Linked DNA regions of Homo sapiens: region 1 is linked to region 2. Evidence: promoter capture Hi-C in 16 types of primary human blood cells and fetal thymus (Javierre and others, 2016). All regions are on one chromosome and are shown on one strand. Each heading gives the region's core, a stretch centred on a gene start or on the middle of the fragment in contact. The rest is flanking DNA. Distances are from core to core; before and after follow the strand shown.

Region 1 (6,827 bases), core at 1,414-3,913, 520 kb before region 2:
CTGGTGCTTCTCTTAGAAGCAAAGCTATTGACTGATAGTATTGCCTGACAGTAGCTCTTTAAGATAGTATTGAGTGAGAGCTATTGCCTGACAGTAGCTCTTTCAGACTGTTTGTCACATAGCCATGTTATTCTCTAATTGTGTAGGCTAGAATTTTTTCTGTCTTGGTGGCACCTTATAGCTACTGTTGGATTACTAAGAATAACATTTTATTTTGACTATTTCTGCATGTCCTGAACTTAGAACTGAGTGCCTTTCTTCTTGCCATGACTTCTTGGTTTGAGCCCACTCATTTTCTTATTCTTTTATTTGCCATTCCAGCAACCTCTTCACTGGTAGCATCAATCAAAGATGGAAACTAATAAAAACTATAGTCCTGAAATGTGCCTTTCACTTTCTCTCCCTACTTCAACTTCTACCATTAGCCTCTTTCTTTTGGGTGTATCTGGAGACTAAGCCACTTTTATAGGCATTCAACACAGCATTGGTTTGGGGTCTTTTAAAGATTTCATTATGCATAAAATTCACATATTGATATAATGTTAACTCAAAAGATTATAATATATTGTGAGTCCGAAAGAAGAATCATTTACGTAAGATGCAGTTTGATATTGTCTTTGACATTCTCCATTTTCAGGAAAGTTATTTTGCCTCCTAGACCTCTTTTTAAAAATCATCTTACTTAATTGATTATTTTCAGAATAAAATTAATATATTTTGAAAAATTAATTTTATTTTAAACAGAACCATGTATTGTGATACTGAGGATGTTTTGATTAGGGTTACTAAGTCTCAAAATAATACAAAACAAAGATAAATACTCAGATTCCGTTAACATTCATATAATGTCTTTCATTAACTTAGCTCATTATTATTATTTCTAATGATTATTTTTACTTAGTGAACTTGAACAGGGTTTTTTTGTCTGTTAAATAAAAGTGATACCTGTCTCCCAGGTGTACTGGGGAATTTAAATGTAAAATCGCTGAGCGCATTAAACAGCATGCCATAAGATTTCAGTATATGTTATCTTCCTGTTTCTCTCCCTCTTCCCCCTTAATATCCAAAATGAGATCATCAATCCTGAGAGCTATTGTCTTAACTACTCAGCTTATGTTACCAGATAGTTGCATAAGGAATTTGATGATGGACTGAAAGGCATGATTGTGAAGCCATTAAAATAAATCCCCAAATGTGCAAAATAGAAAGCAGAAGAGAGAGAAGGGAGAACTAAATTATTTCATCAATGGATCATGTTATCTGTGTGATTGGGAGTCAAGTTTATTTCTTTATAATATTATAGACAGTTCATTAAGCCTCTTTCTTTCTGTTCTGCTAGACTATTCACTATTAGGCTCATAAAGTCACTACCAGAGCTTTCTAATTTTTTTCCAAAAGTGTTTTTGCAGCCAGCCTTTTTATTCTATCTACATTAATAACAAATTTAGTTTCCCTGAAGCAGTTCTTCCATATACAATTCTCGCCCACCCAAACATTTATTGGTCCTCCATTCCCAACAGAATAAAATCTAAATAAGTTAGCCTCAAGACCCTCCTAGAACATCCTAGTGATGTCTACCTTGTATTTGCTTCTCTAGATCCATTCTCCACTCTTTTTCAGTTACTCTTTGGCTCTGGGTGACTGATCTGCATAAACTCCATCAATGAGACCTCCAGTGGGAAATAGAAACAAAGGAAGAGGGTCAGGTCAGGGAATTTATTTACCCAGCTTCCTCTTTTCTACAAAAAGTCATGCATCTTGTCAGGCACCCCACTCCCCAAGGCTCTCTCCTTCTGGGGTCTGGAAATTCCCACACCTCACTCCATCCTTCAGGATGAGGGGTGGAAGTGGTTTTTCCTAGCACTGGAATACTGCCATATTCTTGTGGCTTTCCTACACTCTGCACATACCTTTGTAAATGTTCCCTGTATCAAAACTCAACTCGAATAACCCAATTTCAATGTACCATCTGTTGCCTGGCTGTTATACCTCCCAAATTTATCTCATGCCATACACTCTTTTCTTTAAAGGCAGATGGTTTATTTATTGCAGGCATAGTGGTTCAGAGCACCCAATTTGGAATGATAAAGTATTGGGTTTGAATTCTGATTTTGCTACTTATCAGTTCAAAGGCTTTGGTCAAGTTATTCAGCTTCTCTGAGTCACAGTCTCTTCATCTATAAGACAGGAATAATAATAGTAGTCACCTTAAAGAGTTATTGTGAAAAATAAAAAAGTTTATAGATCTTTAATAAAACAGATGCTGAAGAAATATGGTTTTGGCCATGAATGTTTCTTGAGCATGTATACCTCATGATTTTTGCTGCCACATCTCTTTTGCTATTTTCCCCTCCACTTAAGTTTATCAGTTTTAGGTCTAATTAAGAACCTAGTTATTCTATAATCTCTTGTGTTTCTCAATTTTTATGACTCTTGCTCCCTGGAACTCTCCTTTGTGTTTTGATTTGTATAGGTCTCCTCTCCCTAATTACATTGTTAACAATCTGATGACAAAACTTTTCATTTCCTTGTATCACCTCTAACTAGCTCAGTGTTGGGAACATAGCAGCAGCTTAACAAATATTTGCTTGGTTATTTAATTTTAATCATTTAATTTCAATTAAGGCAGGTCAATTTTATAATGCAATTAATTTCAATTAAGGTAGATAGGCAAACTGCATAATGCAAATCTCCAGAATCGATTTTTTGATTATCACAGTGCCCATTTCAGGGTAGGTACTTATTTAATATTTGATGATTTTTGGTAATTATTATACAGATAAATTATCTGTAATATCATCTAAGTGCCTCACTGATTACTGTGTAGACATAACCTATACCTGTAATGAGATCCTTTTTATTAGCTATCAAAGGTTAATGATCTAAGCAGGTTAAAAAACACAAAAAGGAAATAGTATTAATGTCAATATATTTGTTATTAATTCTTTTGTCATCTTTTAAATATACCAGATTGTAGTCTCATTAGAATACTAGAACTTTGTTATATTTTATATTGTACTCACTGTGGAGTACTTATGGGTCACTCAAATAACATTAAACTACCGAAGGGCTCAAACACAAGAATCAACTTTAGTTTCTTGTGAGCAGTGTAACTTACCACCTCTCTTTAAATATTGCATTTAATCTTGTCTTAATAAAAAAATTAAATAAAGTTATAGCCTGTAGGTGGCATTTGAGTCCACTAATCACTGTCCTGTGCTTATCTTGAATCTTTATATTGGTGATTCCAGTACAGCAGCATGTCTGTAACTAGTGTTGGCTTCTCAGTATGATGATGAAGTTTAGTGATATCTTAGACCATAAGCTACTATAAAAAATCCTCATTGAATCTTGCCAGATTCCTGTTGGAATGCGGCAACTCCCCAAACTTCTGTCCTGTTAGTAGAAATGAAGTATAGTACAAAAAAGCAATGAGGCCTGCCTGACTGATGTACATGTCCCTGACAGTGATCTTGGTGGTGTTTCATGGGAATTAAATGTAAGTTGATTGTGAACAGTGAGTTAGCTGATGATTAGAAAGAGTTGGGGTTGGTTTCTTTAGAGGCTAAGAGCACAATAAGATGAGTCTTGTTTGGTTTTTGATGTAACACATTAAGAGATTTAGGACTTTTAGAATTAGGATATTAATTGTCCTAATCACCCAAGGTAATATTTTTAAGCAATTGTCCTAATCACCCAAGGCAATTGCTTAAAAATATTACCTTCTCCTAATTGTCCTTATCACCCAAGGTAATATTTTTAAGCAAAAGTAAATGAAAAAGTAAAAATTAAAAGATGTATTTATGTGCTGAATGACTTTATGAAGATAGTTTATTTTGTTCTTTTTATTGACATGACTTATTTTCTTCTCATACATAGCCTTTATATGAAAGAGGATGAGAGATGCCCATTTTGGAGTATTTATAGGCCTCCAAAATAAAGTTAAAGTATAGGGGCCCAAGTACAAAAACCAGCTTTAGTATCTGGTAAGCAGTATAACTTACCACCCTTATTTAAATGTTGCCTTTAATTGTTTTGAATCTTGAACCTAAAAATCCTCAGTCAGTCTTTTACCTACTTTTTAGATTCATACAAGATGTAAAAAAGAGTCTTTGGGCAAACTCACTGTTCATTTACTTTCTGTCGTATTCACATGTACACCACTAAAATCCCTTCTTGGAAGTTGGGGAGAAGTGGGTTCATGTATAATACCCTTCCCTCTTCACCTCTCTACCTGTCAGTGTAGAAATATTGCAGGTACTCACAAGTATGGATATTGTCTGCTTTTGTCTAATCCACTGGTACTTGTGCTGTTTTGAATATAATCTTTGGGTTGTATTGAATGCAGAAAATGATTGCTTTTTAAAGATCCTTCATAATTGGAACCTTAGATATTTAGATCAAAATCAGTATAATATTAATCTATCCAGTTTACTCTCAAACTGTCAAACACTTAGTTTGTCTTTGTTTTTTTGGTACCAACAATATGAATTACATTACTATTAGTTGATAAGGTTTTTCAGGTAAACAATTTGAATAAATATATGAGTTTTCAATTTCTGATGATATAGTGGTCCAAAGACCCTTAACAAACCTTTCACTTCAAAATAATTAGAACATTGAAAAAACATTAGCAAATATATTAAATTTTTTTTTTTACTTTGAAGTTCAGGGGTACATGTGCAGGTTTGTTACATAGGTAAACTTGAGTCATGGGAGTTTGTTGTATAGATTATTTCATCACCAAGCTATTAATCCTGGTACTCATTAGTTATTTTTCATTATCCTCTCCCTCTTCCCACCTTCCACTCTCTGAAAGGCCCCAGTGTGTGTTGTTCCCCTGTATGTGTCCATGTGTTCTCATTATTTAGCTCTCACTTATAAGTGAGAACATGTGGTACTTGGTTTTCTGTTTCTTTGTTAGTTTGCGAAGGATAATGGCCTCCAGCTCCATCCATGTCCCTGCAAAGGACATGATTTCATTCTTTTTTATGGCTGCATAGTATTCCATGGTGTATTGAGCTGACAAGAAAATAAGGAAAATATTCAGAGACTAAAAACAGAATGTAAGCAGAAGTTCAGAAAGTTCAGCAAGCACAGAATAGCTGGCCATACTGGGGCAATTATCAATTAATGATAACTCTGAAGATCCATTTTCAGAGGTTGGGGAAAAGAATGTAAACCCGGCCTGCATAAGTTAGGGAAACTGAAAGAAGATTATTCCCCAGAGCCAGGACCCAAAAAGCTATATCCTCAGTAGAAGAAGACATTCACCCACCAATGGAGGTAGGAAGGACACTCCCTTGTTTCAACCATGATGGTGTAGAAAGAAGAAAGTTTGTAACTCAAATCCTGTCCCCACATGAATTTATGGCCCAAATTCACACTCTCAATCTGGAAACATTCAACTTCATCTAAAACTTTATTTGAGGTGATATTTGATTAGGAGTATAGCTGAAGAGCTGACAGAAACAAGAACAGATTCTTTAGTAAAGAATGCAATTTCAATCCAGGCTATAATATTTGCCAAAATGAAAGTCTACCTGAAATTTTGAACAGAAAAAATCTACAGTAACAGTTGGAAACCTCAATACCCCATTCTCAGCATTGGACAGAACATCTAGAGAGAAAATTAACAGAGAAACATTGGATTTAAACTGCAGGTTAGATTAAATGGATGTAACAGACATTTACAGAGCATTTCATTCAACAGCTGCAGAATATGCTTACTTATAAGCACATGGGACATTCTCCAGGATAGACCATATGTTAGACCACAAAACAAGCTTCAACAAATTTTTTAAAATTGAAATCATGTCAAGCATCTTCTCATACCACAATGGAATAAAACTAGAAATCAAAAACAAGAGGAAGTTTAAAAACTGTACAAATACATGGAAATTAAACAATGTGCTCCTGAATGAGCACTGTGTCCATGAAGAAATTAGGAAGATGAAAAAATTTCTTGAAACAAATGAAAATGTAAATACAATGTACCAAAACTTATGGGATACAGCAAAAGCAGTGGTAAGAAGGAAGTTTACTACAATAAATACCTACTTCAAAAAAGTAGAAAGATTTCAAATAAACAACCTAAGGAACCTGAAGGAACTAGGAAAGTAAGAATAAATGAAACTCAGGAATTAGTAGAAATAAAGAAATAATAAAGGTCAAGAAGCAGTAAATGAAATAGACACTAAAAAGAAACACAAATAAATAAAATAAATGAAATTAAAAAGTTATTCATTTGAACAGGTAAACAAAATTGATAAACTCCTAGCTGGACTAAGCAGGAAAAGAGAGTAGACCCAAATAAGTAAAATCAGAAATGAGAAAGGAATTATTACAACTGATACCACAGAAGTACAAAAGATCATCAGAGACCATCATGATAAACTACACACTAACATTAGAAAACCAAGAGGAAATGGATAAATAAAATCCAAGATTGATACAAGAGGACAGAGAAAACTTGAACAAGACTAATAACCAGTAAGGAGTTGGATTCGGAAGTAAAAGATCTCCCAACAAAGACAAACTCAGGACAGGATGGCTTTAGTGCTGAATTCTACCAAACTTGTAAAGAAGAACTAACACCAAATCTTTTCAAGTGATTCCAAAAAATAAAAAATGAGAGAATTCATTCTAACTCATTCTATGAGGCCGGCATTAGCTTGATACCAAAACCAGAGAAGGACACAACAACAAAAAAAGAAAATTACAGGCCACCATCCTTGACAAACATAGATGCCAATATCCTCAACAAAGTAGTATCAAACTGAATCCAATAACGTGTTAAAAAGATAATACACCATGCTCAACTGGGA
Region 2 (6,393 bases), core at 3,801-6,300:
TGGGAGCTTGCTGTGATGACCATCCTTTTCTAGTTGTAAAGTTGTGAAAATGTGAGCCTGAACTTACTAGTGATCAAGGTTCAATTTTGTGGAGAAAATGGTATACAGGCAAGAGGCCAATCCACAAAAGAGGAGTGGGAAATAGAGTCAGAAAGAAATAGTCCCAATGATTCTAGAATTTCTGCCTCCAATTCTACCTGAGGATATTTTTATCCTCACTTTTCTATGGTTCAACTATGAGACGATTTTTTCTGTTGAGTTGTGCAAAAGTTCAGATTTTGTCACATGGTTAAAAAGTCTTCCAATTAACATACATTGGATGTTCTCTTAGTCCATTTGGGCTGCTATAATAAAGTACCACAGACTAGATGGCTTATAAACAATACAAATTCATATCTCACAATTCTGGGGCCTGTGAATCCCAAGGTCAAAGCACTAACAGATTTCGTGTCTGGTGAGGTTCTGCCTCCTTTTAGAGACAGGTCTCACTATAGCCTCACATGATGGAAATGGGGAGGAAGCTCTCTGGCACCTCCTTTATGAGGACACTAATTCTCTTCATGTGGGCTTTGTCCTCATGAGTTAATAAATCCCAAAGGCCCCATCTTCTAATACCATTATCTTGGGAGATAGGATTTCAAATTAATTTTGGAGGGATAGTCAGACCATAGGAGAGGTCAAATAAAATGAACTCACTATAGTTAAGAATGAGGGCAGGAAGAGATACTCGGAGTAATCCCACTTTGTATTTATTAGAGTCATGTAGAGAATTATCTAGTGGTTCCTGCTGGGATTATGTCTAATTAAACCTAGTGGCACAACTACTCTTAGCACTGATTCTTGCTCAAGCATTTAAAAATATTTGTTGAATTAATTTCAAAACACACAGAGACAACTGTTTACTCATTCATTCATTTTGTTAAGTATTTATTGATCAGCCTTTTTGCAATAGACACAGTTCTAATTACTCAGGATATTGTGTTGAGTACTTGCATTTAAACTCCCAGATCTCATTTTTTAAAACCTATATACATCAACAGTACATAGCCATCATGCCAGAAGCAGTTGATACATTAAAAGGAGACATTCTCCAGAACAATAGAGACAATTTAATAAAATGTATGAGTGAACAAGGAGTTCTAGCTCTCAATTTATTGTTCCCTAGATGTGATATATTGGATATGCCATTTAGCCTACTAAGGCCTTAACATTTAAGTAGATGCTCTTTAGAGTTATACTTATTTAAGATTTATCTAGATGCTCTTTAAAGCTTATAACAAACAGAAATTTAACTAAATTATTTTTAAGGCTTATTCCAGGTAAAAAGAAACTTAAAGTTTTTATTTTAATCTCTCAAATTGGTGGTTTTCAAAGTGTGGTCCCCTACCAGCATCCTAGAAATTTGTTAAAATACACATTTTAGACCTCATCCTAGACATACTGAACTACAAACCTTGGGGCAGGGAGTATAGCAATCTTTTTTTTAAAGAAGTTCTGATGGGTACTAGGCTTTCTCAACCACTGCCTGGACATATAAAATATGTTTAATAGTAAATATATGTATGGAAAACGTTTCTAATTTTTCATAACTATATCATTGATATGGTTAGGCTTAGTGTCTCCACCCAAATCTCGTCTTGATTTGTAATCCCCATAATTCCCACGCGTCAAAGAAGAGACCAGGTGGAGGTAATTGAATCATGGGGGCAGTTTCCCCCATGCTGTTCTCATGACAGTGAGTGAGTCCTCATGAGATCTAATGGTTTTATAAGGGGCTTTTCCCCCTTCACTCCGCACTTCTCCTTCCTGCTACCTTGTGAAGAAGGTGCCTTGCTTCCCCTTCACCTTCCCCCATGATTGTAAGATTCCTAAGGCCTCCCCAGCTATGCTGAACTGTGAGACAAAATATTTTGGGAATATTCTTATGCTTTTTGTGAATTTAAAATTATGTCAGTGTCACAGAGTTTTTTCCTGTGGGTTAATTACTAGGGATCAACTGCAGTGGATTACACATACACACACACACACACACACACACACACACGCATACACATGAGAATACTGATAAAGGCTTGTAACTAAAGAAACAAAACCTAGATGATCTCCTGTAATTATCCAATTCTTCCTGTTACAAAACTCAGAAAATGATGAATAGAGAGACAGGGAGAATAAAATCCTGGGTTTGCAATCACTTCTATAAATGAGTAAGACTCTCCTTTATTTAGAAATGTATTATCCTGTCTAAGTTTATAAGTAATGTGGTTTGGTTGTGTACATTTGCAGCTAGCACTAGTACATTAACGAACTTACAGAAAGATTTACCAGAAATTTTATTAGGTGTCACTTTTGCTGTTTGGTCTCTATAACTGGAGTCTAAAACATCCTATATACTGATCTCTGAGAGAGTCTAGGATTACCCAAAGGAATGAAAGATTTTTCCATAGGGTAATACAAAAATAGGAAGTAAATACACTTGATTTATATTCATGGGCCCTTTTTATTCTGTCTTCTTCTCCTCAATATTTATAATTCCCTTTATAAAAGTTTCTTCTTTAGACATATTTTATGGAGATTTGCTTTAAGTGATCCTTAATGACTAGAAGATAGGGACAGACACCACTGCTGCAATCCTACCAGCTTTCTCAGTTTGGGCCTGGAAGCCAATTTTAACTTTTCCCTATTCAGTTAACTCTATATTGTATAAAGACATAGATAGATAGATGATAGTGATTATTTCAGAGTGAACTGTGATATGGGTGTGGGTGGTGTGTTTCTAAGCAATAATTATGATTTGATTTTAAGTCAGAATTATTTGTTTCAGTAGCAGCAGTGGATATCAGAGTATCAGAAGAGAACAGTTTTTTTTGTTTTGTTTTTGTGACGGAATCTCGCTCTGTCACCCAGACTGGAGTGCACTGGCACGATCTCAGCTCACTGCAAGCTCCACCTCCCGGGTTCAAGCAATTCTCTGCCTCAGCCTCCTGAGTAGCTGGGATTACAGGCTCCTGCCACCATGCCCAGCTAATTTTTGTATTTTTAATAGAGATGGGGTTTTGCCATCTTGGCCAGGGTGGTCTTGAACTCCTGACCTTGTGATCCACCCATCTCGGCCTCCCAGAGTGCTGGGATTACAGGCATGAGCCACTGTGCCTAGCCTGTTTTGTTTTTTTTTTTTTAATCTTTAGTGAATGAGATTCAGAGTAGCATGGACATCTTCTTATATTGTGGGAGGATTATTTTGTCACTGTGAGGGAAATCACAATTTCCTTTCCTCCTCTCCCATATCCTTGTCTAAAGTCACTTAACTTTGAGTTTGGCGGCTTTCTTACACACTTGCCTACTATTAAGAGTCAAAAATAATTCCAATCTAGAAGAATAGTACTTTCTCTTTTCCCCTACCATTAGCTTTTGCTAGTTTTGACAATTTTGGGGAGTCTGTAAACCTGATATAATTATTTTAATGTTATATTTTTTATAAAATAAAGAATTTGAGGAGAAAAAGGATGTTTTAAAAATCTAATTCTCCCTACCTCAGAGAACTCAAGCATATTACTTATTTCACACTTTTAATCATTTCTTCTCTTTTTCTTTTCTCCAGTTTGCATGCTGCAGACTTGTTCTTATAATCTCTTCTTAAGTCTTTCCAGCAGCATCTGCTTTTCACCTTTTCTCATTTCTTCCCCTGATTTTTCAATGCAGTTTTCAATGGTTTTCTTTTGACACCACTTTCAAATTTCAATTTTTTCTTCTGTTCTCTTTCTTCCTCTATATTCCACATATGACTTCCAAAGGTTTTGTAAAGATGAATTGTCCAGGATTAAGAGAGTGATTGATTAAGAGCCTACAGAACTGGGAAGAGGAGAGCTGCCAAGCTTTTCTTTATGTGTAGCACAGTGGAGCTACCCAGAGTGTGAGAAGCAAGAAACAGAGAGCCTTGCTAAGGCACGACGAAAAGGGGAAGCCTATTAAAAGAATGATCTGGAGGAGTGTGCAGTGAAGAAAATAAAGTAGAGCCAGCCTGCTGGGTCAGTAGCTAATAGCCCATGGGTTTACAACTAAGGAAGTTAAAATTCTAGCTAATGAGAATTGTAGACACCTACTGAGAGTGAACCGAAGGCTTCCTATTAACTTCCCTTCTTGGGTCTTTTTGACAGAACAGTCAGAAAGTTGTTTCCTATTTGTTTAGTAGCAAAAGAGTTGAAATGGAGGTTTAAAAAATGATGAAAGAGAAGTTGGAGGCAATCTCTTACTCAGCTCCTTCACGAGGTCCAAATACGATGTCTCCCCCACTCCACTCAAAATGTAAATCAGCATAGGTCACAAAAAGAGGAAGGACAGTTAAAAAAAAAAAAAAGAGTTGGGCCAAATAAGACATACAGCCAAGATGACTGAGACAATCAGAGAGGATTTGGGGTGTGGGGACTTCAAATTAATAAATCCGGTATTAGCTTTGTGGAATTAGCAGGATTAGGGTACCTCTTTCAAGAACACTGGTTGAATTTCATGGTTTCAATAGATGACCATTAGCTGTTATGTGCACCCCCCCCCCCCTTTTTTCTTGCAGAAGTTAAGAAGTCTGCTTAACTCGCAGGTCACCAAGAGATTGATTAAAGGCCTCTGGACATCATTTGGGTTTGGATAAATCTGTAGGGCCACTTTACAGACTGTCTCCAACTCCTGATCCCACTGTGGTTCTTTCTGAATTGATCCAGGTCCCTGCTAGCAAGTGAAGCAGAAAGAATCCAGGCTAGTTGTGAGATGACATACAGCAAGCAGGCTGAGATGATGGGGACATTTCAGAACCAAGAGGAGGGGGCGGGCAGGACACGGACTTGTCTCCCCCACCTTGATGCCAAGGTGGCATCTGGGAGATATCTCGAAGGGCAACGTCGAGGGGACTGCAAGCGTCAACCCTGGCGCGGCAGCACGGCGCCCCTCTCCGCGGGCGGGGAGCGAGCGCGTGTGCGCGAGAGCGCCGGGCGGCGGCGGGAGGAGGCGCAGGCGCGCTGCTCGCCCGTCTGCAGCCCCGAGCCGAGCGCCGCGTCTCGGGAGTTGATGGCAGCACCACTGTGCGGCCGCCCGGCCGAGCGCGGAGCGCAGCCACTCGCCGCTGCCCAGGGAGCGCCCAAGATGTGGGGGGACCGGGGCGGCAGCGGCCGTAGCAGCGCCAGGGACGGGGGCACGCAGCAGCCTCCGCTCGCCCGCCTGTCCTGACCTGCCTCGCTTGCCCCCAAAGAATGTCAGCCAAGTCCAAGGGGAACCCCTCCTCGTCCTGTCCAGCCGAGGGACCGCCGGCAGCCTCCAAAACCAAGGTGAAGGAACAGATCAAGATCATCGTGGAGGATTTGGAATTAGTCCTGGGCGACCTGAAGGACGTGGCCAAGGAACTTAAGGAGGTGAGAGGCGCAGGGGTGGGGAGGGAGTTCGGCACCCTTCGACCCCTCCGGGGTCCCCTTTCCGATTTTCAGCAGGGACAGCCAGATTTCCAAACTCCTGGGAAACTACAGAAAAGGCGCCTGCAGACGGACTTTCTTTGCTCCTGGAGTCCTGAGAGGAGTTGTTGTTGCACTTTTTAATTTTTTTTTTTAATCAGGAAGAAATCAACTAGTGTTTTAATCGATGGACCTGGGCTGGTGGGAGGGATGAACGCACGCGTGTCTCTGAATCTGTGTGTGTGACGACGGGGGAGAGGGTTAGCTGGGGGTGTGTCGGCAGAGGAAGTCGTGAGCAGCCCGGCTGGAGCGTGCAAGATGCTCCTCTCCTGCCCTATTGCTTCCCCAGAGTCCTTTGGCAAGTCCGCTGCCTATCTGTCAGCCTCCCCAAGTCAGGGCTGAAGAGGGGCCGGGTTCTGGGCCCTGGGCCAGATCAGGGAGGGCAGCCTGGAGGAAGCTTGGCTCAGACTACCCTCCCTGTCTCTCGAGCCTCGCTGTAGGGAAGGCGACCCGGGCTGCTGGCAGCCTTGGGGCTAAGGAGGGGGTCTGGGACTTTCTCACTTTCTCAGTTTCTGAAGCATCCCCTGCTCTCCTCCGAACGTCGTTACCAGTAACTCTGGGCCTTCCCGCCACCCTACCTCTGCTTCCTTCCTTCCACCCTGTCGCCACTTGGCATTGAACCCGAGAAGCAGGACGCGCAGGAGAGTGTATGTGTGGCCGGGGTCTTGCCATTGGCGTCCTGGCTCTCTGCAGCTGGGACTGCTTCGGTTCTTCCCCGCTTTTCCTATCCCACTTCGGTTCAGCCCTACTCCCGCCCGCCCCTAGCCCCAGGTGATCCAGATGGAAAGAAGCAGAGAAGGTGTCAGGGCTGAGGCTGCGTAACTCAGGCGGCGGCTCCGGGCGGGGGCGGGGGCCGGGCTGGGAGGGGTGGGGTCTCCCGAGCCAGGCTGGCTGCCGGCGG

What was found. Contacts are between HindIII fragments. The CHiCAGO score rates a contact against its expected background, and 5 or more counts as called.
Region 1: a contact is called between a fragment that was not itself captured here and the fragment with the promoter of PRR16 in region 2, in 4 of 17 cell types (M2 macrophages, neutrophils, M1 macrophages and 1 more). The highest score is 12.0, in M2 macrophages.

What each region holds. Positions count from the first base shown.
Region 1 is chr5:119,940,150-119,946,976 of GRCh38, forward strand. The region is part of intron 1 of LOC105379144 (a long non-coding RNA gene); the gene reads left to right. Among named protein-coding and RNA genes, the nearest start is that of FAM170A, 310 kb to the left of the region's middle. The HindIII fragment of the contact is 6,242 bases long and covers 1-5,784 here.
Region 2 is chr5:120,459,250-120,465,642 of GRCh38, forward strand. It overlaps PRR16 (proline rich 16), which reads left to right and starts at 5,051. Exons shown (of 2, transcript NM_001300783.2): 1 at 5,051-5,396. The coding sequence starts at 5,238. RefSeq lists a silencer at 4,970-5,019 and an enhancer at 5,425-5,926. The HindIII fragment of the contact is 2,017 bases long and covers 3,871-5,887 here.